Linked DNA regions of Homo sapiens: region 2 is linked to region 1. Evidence: promoter capture Hi-C in 16 types of primary human blood cells and fetal thymus (Javierre and others, 2016). All regions are on one chromosome and are shown on one strand. Each heading gives the region's core, a stretch centred on a gene start or on the middle of the fragment in contact. The rest is flanking DNA. Distances are from core to core; before and after follow the strand shown.

Region 1 (5,033 bases), core at 1-2,500:
CATTACCGCGGCCGCCGGGGTGCTTCCGGTGCTTGCCTGCAGGAATACAAAGCTACGTGGGGCCGGTGTGATGGCTCATGCCTGTAATCCCAGCATTTTAGGAGGACGAGGGGGGGTAGATCACCTGAGGTCAGGAGTTCGAGACCAGCCTGGCCAACACGGAGAAACCCCCGACTCTACTAAAAATAGAAAAAGAATTAGCCGGGCGTCGTGGCGCACACCTGTAATATCAGCTACTCGGGAGGCTGAGGCAGGAGAATCGCTTGAGCCCGGCAGGCAGGGGTTGCAGTGAGCCGAGATTTCGCCACTGCACTCCAGCCTGGGCGACAGTGATCAGTCTCACACACACACAAAAAAGCTACATGCACCACACAGCCTTCTCATGCATCTCAATACTTCCTCGCACAAAAGCAGAGTGTTTCCCAGACTTCTGTGTCCCGCTTACGCTGTTCCCACCCTACCGATGCCGGTTTTCAGCAATGCGATTACTTTAGGATTCCGGGTGAAACATCTTTTCAGGTTCCACATCACAGCATTCCCACAGTACTCCATGTCTTCAACTAACCCAATACCGTGCCTGCTCAATTCCTATTACCCCACTGATGTGAAATTCCTTAGAACTGGAATACTAGAGGATCGTCAGAAAAAAATCAACAGCTGTGCAACTTGACCACAAAAAGGTCTTATTCTAACCCACTTATAGGCTACCGATCTCCAGACTAGCTAAGCACCCGAAGAGAGCCCAAGGCCCACCCCGAGGGGAAGCCGGCACTTACCTATGCGGCCGTGGCCGTGGCTCACGTGGCCCCTAAGTTTCCGGGTCTTCCTCAGTCTGGATGGCTGTGTGGAAAAAGCTTGGTGGTAAGGCCTAAGGAATTAGGGGCAGGGGGCGATGCCCGCCAGCCGAGATGGTCCTGTAAGCCTGTGGGTCAAAGACCTAACTTCTGGAGCGTTTGGGAAAGCTGAGGGTACCGATCCGCTCAGGGCCGTGAGGTCTCACCACGGTAGCGCAGGGGCCCGCGTGTCCTAGAGATCCGAACCGCGGGCCTAACACACGGCTCCGGGAGCCCCGCCCCGGGCCCGCGCCGGCCACCCTGCCCCGCAGGCGGCCATGCGCAGCCTGGAAGCCCCGACCATGGTAGGGAGTGGATGACTAGGGGCAATGGGAATACAGCTTAGGGGTCTCCGCCGGCAAGGAAGAGGAGGCAAGAAACGAAACACCTACCATGTTGGCAGCCCAGACGAAAAAGGAAGGCCTTCGCCAAGTCTCGCGAGGTATCGGCCACGGGGGCGGGGCAAAACGCCTCACTTCCGGTCACAGAGGCCGGGCTTCGGGCGGGGCCTCCTGGTCTCGCGGGATTGCGCGCCTGCTAGTCGCTTCCTCTTTCTGAGGGTGGTGATCCCCCATCACGGAGTGTCCTGGTGGCGGTGTACGGTTTCGGTGAGGCTCGTTGTGCTAGGCTCGGAGGGCGAGAACTGTTGAAGAATCGGGGCTAGGTGTGCTGTACTGCACGCCGCCCGTGCTTGCTTGAGCCAGGCCCTTTTCTGGCGCCTTGGTCAGGGAACCGCCTAAGCCGACCCTAAGGGCCTCGTTGTCTGAGCTCCTCACCAAATGCGCCAGCCCTGAGCCGCCCCGCGCACCTCCACAGTTCTTAGTGGTCTGCCCGGGGCTGGTGATAGTGGCTACTGGTTTGTCTCCCGGCCGCAGTGCGGAACCGCGAGGCCCTCTTTAATCCTCAGTGTGCCCACCTGGTGTCTCGCTCGGTTTCCTGAAGCTCGGGCGGCTCCCGAAATGCCTTCTCCCGCTCTCACACTTCTGAGTGGGCACTGCAGCTTCCTTTCTCTTTTGCCCTTTTGCTATCATTTGGTTGTCCTCTCAAGTTTGAGCAACTTAAATTGCTTCAGGGACTTAGATGCCTGGTTGCTTTATGGTCCTTTTAATGCAGATGTTGTAAATACTTTTTCTAAATGCCACATTTAGGCCAGGCGCGGTGGCTCACACCTGTAGTCCCAACACTTTGGGAGGTCGAGGCGGGAGGATTTCTTGAGGCGAGTAGTTCAACACCAGCCTGGGCAACATAGTGAGACCCTCGTCTCCACATACAAAAGTAAATAAGTAAAAATAAATGCTATTTTTGAATTTTCTCCAGAATCTACATAACACGCCTGTGACCCTTTCCTGGACACAATGCAGACAGTTGCTCGCTTCCCCACCTGTACCACCACACAATCTAGTATAACCCTTATGTAATTTATTGACCTACGTTTGTCTTCCCTACTAGACCTAATTCCTTATGTGGTCAAGGACTGTTTTTTTTAATCCACACTCAACTAGTGATTGTTGAGTGAATAAATGAACTTACCCTCACCTCCCTGTCTTCGCTAATAGCAGCATGTCTTCGCTCTTAAGTCGGTTCCTTCAACCAGTGTTCAAGATCCCATCCCCTCGCTAGTCTATTAATAGATCCCATGGGAAAAATGAAATAAATTTTTAAAATCCCATCCCCTCAGTTATTCTCTGTGTGTATGTGTGAGCGTGTATTTATTTATTTTTCTTTGTCTTGCCCCCTTCAGCTAAAATATATTTTAGCTAAAATATCCAAAATTCTGGCCGGGCGTGGTGGCTTACTTCTGTAATCCCAGCACTTTGGAAGGCCGAGGCGGGCGGATCACGAGGTCAGGAGATCGAGACCATCCTGGCTAACACGGTGAAACCCCGTCTCTACTAAAAATACAAAAAATTAGATGGGCGTGGTGGTGGGCGCCTGTAGTCCCAGCTACTCGGGAGGCTGAGGCAGGAGAATGGCGTGAACCCGGGAGGCGGAGCTTGTAGTGAACCGAGATCGCGCCACTGCACTGCAGCCTGGGCGACAGAACGAGACTCCGTCTCAAAAAAAAAAAAAAAAATTCCAAAATTCTCCCATGTCCTTGCCCTTACAGCCAAGCTCCCCAAAAGAGTAGTCTACAAATCCTGCCCATTTGCACCTTCCCATCCATTGTTCACTGCGGTCTAGCTCACAGCCTGTGACTTCAGTGAAATTGCTCTTACTAATGTCATTAATGAACGAATTGCCAAATTGGACTCTTCCTATTCTTCATATCACTTGTTCTTTCTGTTGTACTTTAATCTGTTGGCGTCTTTTTCTAGAAAAAGTCTTGCCTTCCTCCTACTCTTTGGTCACTTTTCAGTCTTCTTTTCAGGTTCTTCCATCCAGCGTTGTCCACCATTTGAATGTTGATGTTCCTCAGCCTTCTGTCCTTGTCCTTATCTTTTCACAGTACATGGTCTTCTTGGGTGGCTTCAATTCACATCCTTATTGCTGAGCTCCACACCCATATGGTCACTTAATTACTGGTTAGTATTCCTTGGACATTCTACAGACAAAGTAAACATATCCAAAGAACTCAATCTGCACTGCTCACTGGTGCCTTCTCCTTTATTCTCTGTCTTGGTGAGTGGCACCATTGTCCACCTAGATAATGAAAATTGTCCCCAAGCCTTCTCTTCTTCTACTACACTGTCACCCTATCCTTTTGTTTCTGTATCTCCCCAATGTGCTTCCTCTGTTTAAGCCTTAGTGCCCTGCCTTCATTCAGGCCCCCATCATATCTCTTAACTGGAGTTTACAACACCTTCCTTTGTTCACTCTGCCTGCATTCTAACCCTCCTCCAATTTCTGTATCCTTCACACCTCCACCACGTTAGTATTCCGAAAACATGACTTTCATTCTTTTACTTGATCAAAAAGTTCGGTAGCTCCTTATGACCAACAGAATATAGCCCACTTGCCTTTCCAGCCTTACCCCAGCCTCTCCCTTACACAAGCTTTCTACTGCAGCCGTGCCTGGTATATCCCATTTGCATTTTTGCCTTTGCTCATGCTGTTTCCCATCCCGGAGTGCCCATCCTCTTCCTGACCACATGTCCTGAATCTTCCTCAACCTTTAAGGCCAACTTTATATTCTGCTTCTTCCCAGAACACTTCAGTCCACAAGGATAACAACCAACATTTTCAGAGCACTTGGCAATTTACAAAATACATCTGCCTGAAGGTACAGCACTACCAGCCTCATTTTACGTGTGTGAAAACTGAAGCACAGAAGAATTGGGTGACTTGTCAGACGCTGCATAGGTGGTCAGGTACAGAGCCTGGGCCTAGCCTTTAGTCTTCTCTCTCCAGATCCCCTGCTTTTACCTCAGTGACCAGTCCCTCTCTGACCTTACAGCATTATGGTCTTCATCCCTCCATCAACCTTAATCACATACTGCATGTGACCAGCAGGAAGAGGGGTCTTGAGAATAGGAGGGGAGATCAAAGAAGACATCGTCGTCTATTTGACATCAAAACTGGCCAGTAAGTGCACAAGAAATGAGCTGGGTTACCTGGAACCTAACCTTGGGAAGATGATCTGTCAATGGAGGTAAGCTGGGCAGGGCCTTGGGAATGAAAGGGAACCATCAGTGGTATTAGAGCTGGGGCCTACAATAAGGACCACCACTGCAAGGGGTTGAGGTAGGGTTCTGGGTGCTAAGACACTCCTCTTGGATAGTTTGCCAGGTTCCTTGGTTATAGAGGAGCTACGTTCTGTCCCTCAGGTCACGCGGCTGAACAGAAGGCCTCCCAGAGTGGACCCAGCACTACCCGTTGGGTTCTGTGTTCACCTAACATTCTTCTCATCAATGGCTTGATCTGGTTGTAGAGGGAGTACCCTGGGTAGTTGTCTGGCTCAATCCAGTTTTCTATCCAGCTCCCTCTCCTTCAAAAGGCAACCACATGACTTAAACACACAGCTCATGTGGTGTTTGTTCAGTGTGTGTCACTTTTCCTAGGTTGACAGAGGTCTGAGAGAGCAGACAAAGCTGAGTTTTCTGTCTGCAAAGTGGAGTAGCAGCCAGATATTTGGCATTAGGGGACCTGTCCCTCCCAGCTAGGCACATGGGACATGACCTTTGGCCATGACTCCTGAGGGGTGTCCTTCTCTGTGACATCTCTTCTGAAGTACAGCATGGCTTTGTGACATCTCAGGCATCT
Region 2 (7,022 bases), core at 1-2,500, about 35 Mb before region 1:
CCTTTCATCGCAGTTTGTCATTTCTGCCCCTTTCATTTGTAGGGGATTTTCTGTAGCCCTCATAGGTTCTTAGTTGGGGGAGACTCCTGTTACAAAAGACAAATTAACAAGAGAAAAACAGACAGAAATTTACTGACATGTGTATTTCATTTATACATGAGAAATCTGGAGGGAATGAGTCGTTCTGGAAGAGGTGACTTTGAATTCCAGTTTTTATAGCATCTTCAACAAAGAACAGTAATTTTTTTAAGTTACAAGACAAAGAAATAGGGCTTTGAGTCTCTCCAGGAGGCAACTTGTGAGAAGGCAAAAAAAAAAAAAAAAAAAAAAGACAAAGGCCAGTTAGTCAAGCTTGTTAATGTAAATTCCTCTGGTACCATCTCCAGGCCATAGGGGTCTAAAGTTGTCTTTGTTCTCCTAGGTAGACAGAGGGACAGGATACCTTTTGTCTTTGTAAACCTGTGTCCTACTTTTAGGCAAATAGGGCCAGGGTAGAGAGCTTTCCTGAATGTGCTGCTGCTTGTCTTTAGCACAATCCTTCATGTTTTGGGGAGGCATGTCCTGGTCTCCCACACGTGCCTGCAATATTTGTTGAACTCTGGCTAGGTGTGGCGGCCCACGCCTGTAATGCCAACACTTTGAGAGGACAAGGTGGGAGCATCCCTTGAACCCAGGAGTTTGAAACCAGCCTGGGCAACATAGAGAGACCGTGTCTCTACCAAAAAAAGGTTTTTATGTTTTTTTGTTTTTTTGAGACGGAGTCTCGCTCTGTCATCCAGGCTGGAGTGCAGTGGCACAATCTCTGCTCACTGCAACCTCCGCCTCCCGGGTTCAAGCAATTCTTTTGTCTCAGCCTCCCCAGTAGCTGGGACTACAGGCACGCACCACCACGCCTGGCTAATTTTTGTATTTTTAGTAGAGATGGAGTTTCACCATATTGTCCCGACTGGTCTTGAACTCCTGACCTCGTGATCTGCCCGCCTCGGCCTCCCAAGTGCTGGGATGGCAGGCGTGAGCCACTGCACTCAGCCAAAATGTTTTTGTAAATTAGCCAGACTTGATGACATGTGCCTGTGGTTTCAGCTACTTGGGAGGCTGAGGTGGGAGGATCACTTGAGCCCAGAAGGTAGAGGCTGCAGTGAATTTGATCGTGCCACTGCACTCCCACCTGGGTGTTTGCGAGACTCTATCTAAAAAAAAAAAAAAAAAAAAAAAAAAATTACATACACACACACACACACACACACACACACACACACACATATAATTTCAAAAGTATTTTTCAAACTCTGCCCTAAGCTCTACATATTCTGGCAATGGGTACAGTGGGCACCCAGGTCCCAGGTAGAGCTGCAGTCTCTGAGGTGCCTTGAATGGGAAAGTCTTCTTTCCCCATGAAAGGAAATAAGCAGAATCTCTCAATACAGGTATGGCTGGGAAGACATGGCTGTCTTCTGGCCATTCCACTTCTTGTCTTCACTTTTGCCTTGCACTAGCTAACACTGTGACCTTGAGCAACTCTCATGACTTTTTTGGCCCTTACTGTTTTCTTCTGTAAGATAAGGAAGCGATTATTTTCCTCTATTTAAATCTTAATTCTATGTAATTCACATCTCAGTGAATGCCTGTTATGTGCCAGGTCTCTGTAAAATGCGAGGATACGGTGATGAGCAAGACAAACCAAAGCCTGCATGATTGATTGGGAAGGCCGACTTACAATGTGGGGACTATTTTAAAAAGACTATTTACTGGGTACCATGGAAACATGCAGCAGGGGGATTTAACCCCACGAAACAACAAACACAGGCACTTGTCCTAAGTGGAAGACATACACACACGTTACATTAAATGTGAATTGACTAAAGATCAATTAAAAGATCATCAGACTGGATAAAACAGCAAGAATCAAGCATATGGTGTGTGCAGGAGACACACTTTAAATACAAAAACAAATGGTCAAAGGTAAAAATGTGAAAAAAAACAAGCAAATAATAATCATGAAAAAAGCTGATGTGTTCATATTGGTATCTGATAGTAGGCTTCAAGACAAAAATAATTAACAAAAATAAAATGGGGCATTTTAGAATAAAATGATTAATTTATCAGGGTGACAATCTTAAAAGTTTATGCTCGTAATAACAAAGCTTCAAAATACATGAAGCAGAAACTGACAGAACGAAAAAGAGAAAAGACAAGTTCATAATAATTGGAAAATTTTATACCACTCTCTCGGTGATAGAACAAATGGATCAAAAGACACTAAGGATCAGAACTTTTGGACATTATACAAAAATTTAATCTAATTGACATTTATAGAACACCATCCCCAATACCACAGAATATACTTCTTTTCAAGTGCAAATGAAACATTAAGATAGACCACATGTTGTAAACAAATCTGGCCATAAACTGTCTTAATAAGTTTCAAAGGATTGAAACCATAGAGTACATTCTCTAGTCACAATGAAATTAAAGTAGAAATCATTAACAAAGAAAGCTGAACAGTCCCCAAATATTTGGAAACTAAGTTACATATGCTAAGCAAACCATTGATTTAAAAAAAGAAATCACAAGGGAAATTAGAAAATATTTTGAATGATTAAAAACCAGCAGATCAAAGTTTATGGAATGTAGCTAAAATAATGCTAAGTGAGAAATGAATAGCTTGTAATGCATATATTTGAAACCAACTTAAAACAAATGATCTAAGCTTCCACATTAATAAGCTAGAAAAAAGAGCAAATTAAACCCAAAGTAAATAGAAAGAAATAAAGATAAGAGCAGAAATGAAGGCGAAACGAGAAAAATCAATGAAACTGAAAGTTGGTTCTTTGAAAAGTTCAATACAGTTGATAAACAGTTAGATTGACTGATCAAAAAAACTCATTTTGTTGCAGAATTTTGCTCCTTAGTTCAGCTAAAACCGGGTTCTTGTCACACCACCAGGAAGGATTAGGAACATGGACACATTGAAGGGTGAGGGGAACGGAATTTACTGGGCAAAAAGGAAAAAAGAAAAATACTGTCAGCAGAGCAAGAGGGGGTCCTGCTAACAGGCCTCCAAACTCACATTGAATCCCAGGCCACCACACAGAAATTGAAGAGGCCAGGCTCCTCCCCGCTGAGCATGGCCACAGCTTCCCTTGGCTCCATCTTGTTCTCCCAGTGCACAGATGGGTTGGAGATTCTCCGGAGACCCTCCCCGTAATCCCCCTCCTGCATGTATCAATTTCAGTATCAGGAAAGGAAAAGGAGATACAACTAAAGATCCTAAATGTATTAAAAGGATAACAGAATATTTATAACCAATTTTAAGTCAATAATTAAACTTAGATGAAATAGACAAACTTTATTGAAAGGCACAAATAACCAAATCTGATACAAGAAATAGAAAACTCGAACTGTCACAGAAATTGAATTTATAAGTAAAAGCCGTCCCACAAAAAAAAAAAAAGAAGAAAAAAAAAACCTCCAGGCCCTTATGGTTTTACAGCTGAATTCAACCAAATATTTAAAGGTTGAAGAAGTTTTTGGACACAAACTTCTAGAAAATTCAGGAAGGAACAGTTTCCCAAACATCTATGAAACCAGTATTAATCATGATACTGAAACTAACAATGCATTACAAAAAAAAAAATTATAGAATGATGTCCTTCTTGAATGTAAACTTCTTAAAATAGCAAACCAAACTCAATGGTATATAAAAGGACAATGCATCATGACCAAATGGGGTTTATTGCAGCAATGTGAAGTTGCTTTAACATTAAGAAATCAATGTAACTTACTACATTGATAATCAAGAGAAAAATCATATCTCTATAAATGCAGATGAAAAACATCTAACAACATTGAACCCTCATACATGGTAAAACTCCCAGCAAACTAGTAATAGAAGGACTCTTTATTAGATAAGGGACAGAATGAAAAATACAGTAACGTTATACTCAAGAGCAGAAGATTGCACTCAATGCTACTAAGACTGAGAACAAGGCAGGCTGTCCTCTCAACCACTTTTATTCAACGTTATACTAGAGGTTTTTTAAAAAGAGCTATATCGGTCAGGAGCGGTGGCTCAGCTTGTAATCCCAGCACTTTGGGAGGCCGAGGCAGGCGGATCACTTGAGGTCAGGCGTTTGAGACAAGCCTGGCCAACATGGTAAAACCCTGTCTCTACTAAAGATATAAAAATTAGCTGGGCGAGGTGGCACGTGCCTGTAGTCCCAGCTGCTTGGGAGGCAGAGGCAGGAGAATCGCTGAACCAGCAGCAGAGGTTGCAGTGAGCCGAGATTGTGACACTGCACTCCAACCTGGGCGACAGAGTGAGACTCAGTCTCACAACAACAACAACAACAACAACAAAAACACACACATACACACACACACACAAGAAAACTGACAAGAATAAACAAATTTGGATTCGGAGCAAGTACGGCCACAAACCCAAGCGACTAAAGCCACCAGTTGGTACTGTGAGCTCTTTCTTCATCCATAAAATCGTAGTAGTCCCTTCTCTGCCCACTTCACAGTATCAGTGCTCTGACATGCAAGGGCTTTGCAGAGAAACTGATGGGTGGCTTAATTTGAACAGCTGAAAACATTAGAAATGGAAATGGACAACCCCAGATGCTACGAACTGAATGTGTCCCCCCAACATTCATATTTGAAATCCTAACCCCCAAGGTGATGGTATTAGAAGGTGAGCCCTTTGAAAAGTGATTGGGTCATGAAGGCAGAGGAAGACCTCTCACCTCTTCTGCCACATGAGATGACACTGGGAAGATGGGACCCTCACCAGATGCCAAATCTCCCAGGGCCTTGAACTCGGCCTTTCCAGCCTCCAGAACTGTGAGAAAGATTTGTTTCTAAGCCATCCACTTTGTGATATTTTCATATTATGAAGGGACTAAGACACCAAGCTTGTCAGATTTTTTTTTCTTTTTTGTAGAGACAGGGTCTTACTCTATAACCAGGCTGGAATGCAGTGGCACGATATGGTTCACTGCAGGCTTGGTCTCCTAGATTTAAGCGAGCCTCCCACCTCAGCCTCCTGAATAGCTGGGACTAGAGGCACACATCACCACACCCAGCTAATTTTATTTTTTGTAGAGACAGGGTCTCGGTTGCTCAGGCTGGTCTCAAACACCTGGCCTCAAGCCATTCTCTGGCCTCAGCCTCCCAAAGTGCTGGGATTACAGGCATGAGCCACCGTACCCAGCAAGAGACTTTAAAAGCCTTTTGGGAAGGTAAAAGTGGAACAAACTCTAGTATTTGGAAGCAGGAATACCTGCAATTATACTCCCACCTGCCTCTTAGCAGGTCATGTGGAAGTGGATGTGATTTCATAAGAATCTTATAGAACATTGCATCCAACACCTGGAAAATGGCCCATCAGTTAAGGATGACTTCTTTCTTTTTCTGGCCTGCTCTAGACAGTATTCTTTACATAGAACCTGCCTTAGAATTTAAAAATTAAGGAGGACAGAAAATCATCTGGCTTCCAAAGATGATTATGAAGAATATAAGCAAGAAAATAAGATGGGCCTAGAATTTAAAAGTATAGAATTTATTAGGTACTGAATATAAAAATAAACCATCTAAATAGGGGCCCAGAGAACTCCCTTTATTTCTCTAGGTGTCTCTAGGCCTTTCCACCCCAACCCCGATAAAAACATTTTGCATATATAATGGCTAGCAAAGACTAAAAAGATGGAAAGCTTCCAAAGACAGCAGGCACTCAGCTTAAGGAGGGTGACAACCGGGTAAGATGAGATCTTCCTGGAGGAGCCCACCATTTTCTCCATCGCAACACTGACAAAAAGACACCCTGGCCTTCTGGGCCAGAGGCTGACATTAGGGGGTCCCTGAGCAAGTGATGGGCTGGAACTGCTGGTTGGGAGGCAGACGGCCTACTCCCTCATTGCATCCTCCAACTGCTTCACTATCAAAGCCTCCTTCTGCTCCTGCAGCACATCACAGAACCGACGCATAGCTAGAGGGTTCAAATGGGGACAGAGAGAAATAGTGATTTAGTAGGTTTGCTGGTGGGTCCCAGACATACCCAGGTCATGGTCAACCATAAAAGCCTCTCATTCAGGGATCCTGAACTTCAGCCCTCCCACCTTTGGGATGGATTTCCAAGTCTACATGTTGCATCCCTGATTTCTTTTTGAATATCATTGTTATGTCAGCCTGCGAGACATCTCAATGTCTTGTATCAAAGCCTGTACTCTCGGGCTTATGGCCTTGGCCTAATCAGGATTTCTATTTGCCTCTAGTGTCTCTTCACTCAGCCTATCTTCTATGCTAGCTCAAAAGAATTCTGTAACAAAAACCTTCATGAGAATGAACAATTCACTGCTATATTCCCAGCAGGTAGAACAGCATCTGGCATGTAGTGGAATGCAATAAATAAATGTTCACATGAATGTCCTATTCTCTATAACCTCAGAGGAGAATCTAAACTCTCTAGTATGGCATACAGGGACTTCCATGGTCATCTGCCTATCCATCTCACTTACTAGGCTGCCAGTCCCACAAGGGCAGAGTACTACTTTTTTCGGGTTTTGTTTGTTTGTTTTTGTTTTCTTGAAACAGTCTCACTCTGTCGCCCAGGCTGGAGTGCAGTGGCGCAATCTCAGCTCACTGCAACCTCCACCTCCCAGGTTCAAGCAATTCTCCTGCCTCAGCCCCCCGAGTAGCTGGGATTACAGGCGTGCGCCACCATGCGTGGCTAATTTTTTGTATTTTTAGTAGAGACAGGGTTTTACCATGCTGGCCAGGCTGGTCTGGAACTCCTGACCTCATGATCCACCCACCTCGGCCTCCCAAAGTGCTGGGATTACAGGCATAAGACACCGCACCTGGCCTCAGAGTACTACTTTTTAGCTTGTGGTCCCAATGCCTCACTCAATGGCAGTCACAGAACAGATACCCCAAATGGGTAATGAATGGATAGGTGCTTGAGGTACATATCAGTTCTTGTTTGCAAGAGCACCTAACTAAAGATAGACATGGAAACAGGG

What was found. The method cuts DNA at HindIII sites, captures the fragments that hold promoters and counts their contacts. A CHiCAGO score of 5 or more calls a contact.
Region 2: a fragment that was not itself captured here is called in contact with the fragment with the promoter of RPL27A in region 1 in 1 of 17 cell types (fetal thymus); the score reaches 9.1 in fetal thymus.

Annotation. Positions count from the first base shown.
Region 1 is chr11:8,679,009-8,684,041 of GRCh38, reverse strand. RPL27A (ribosomal protein L27a) reads right to left here and starts at 1,250. Exons shown (of 5, transcript NM_000990.5): 1 at 1,226-1,250; 2 at 777-840; 3 at 1-36. The coding sequence starts at 1,228. TRIM66 (tripartite motif containing 66) reads left to right here and starts at 1,377. Exons shown (of 25, transcript NM_001388022.1): 1 at 1,377-1,441; 2 at 3,979-4,141; 3 at 4,228-4,422. RefSeq lists enhancers at 329-971, 1,298-1,487, 1,688-1,757, 621-1,820 and a silencer at 978-1,177. The HindIII fragment of the contact is 2,972 bases long and covers 857-3,828 here.
Region 2 is chr11:44,058,805-44,065,826 of GRCh38, reverse strand. ACCSL (1-aminocyclopropane-1-carboxylate synthase homolog (inactive) like) reads right to left here. Exons shown (of 14, transcript NM_001031854.2): 14 at 5,850-5,989. The coding sequence ends at 5,907. Among named protein-coding and RNA genes, the nearest start is that of ACCS, 4.0 kb to the left of the region's middle. The HindIII fragment of the contact is 1,793 bases long and covers 354-2,146 here.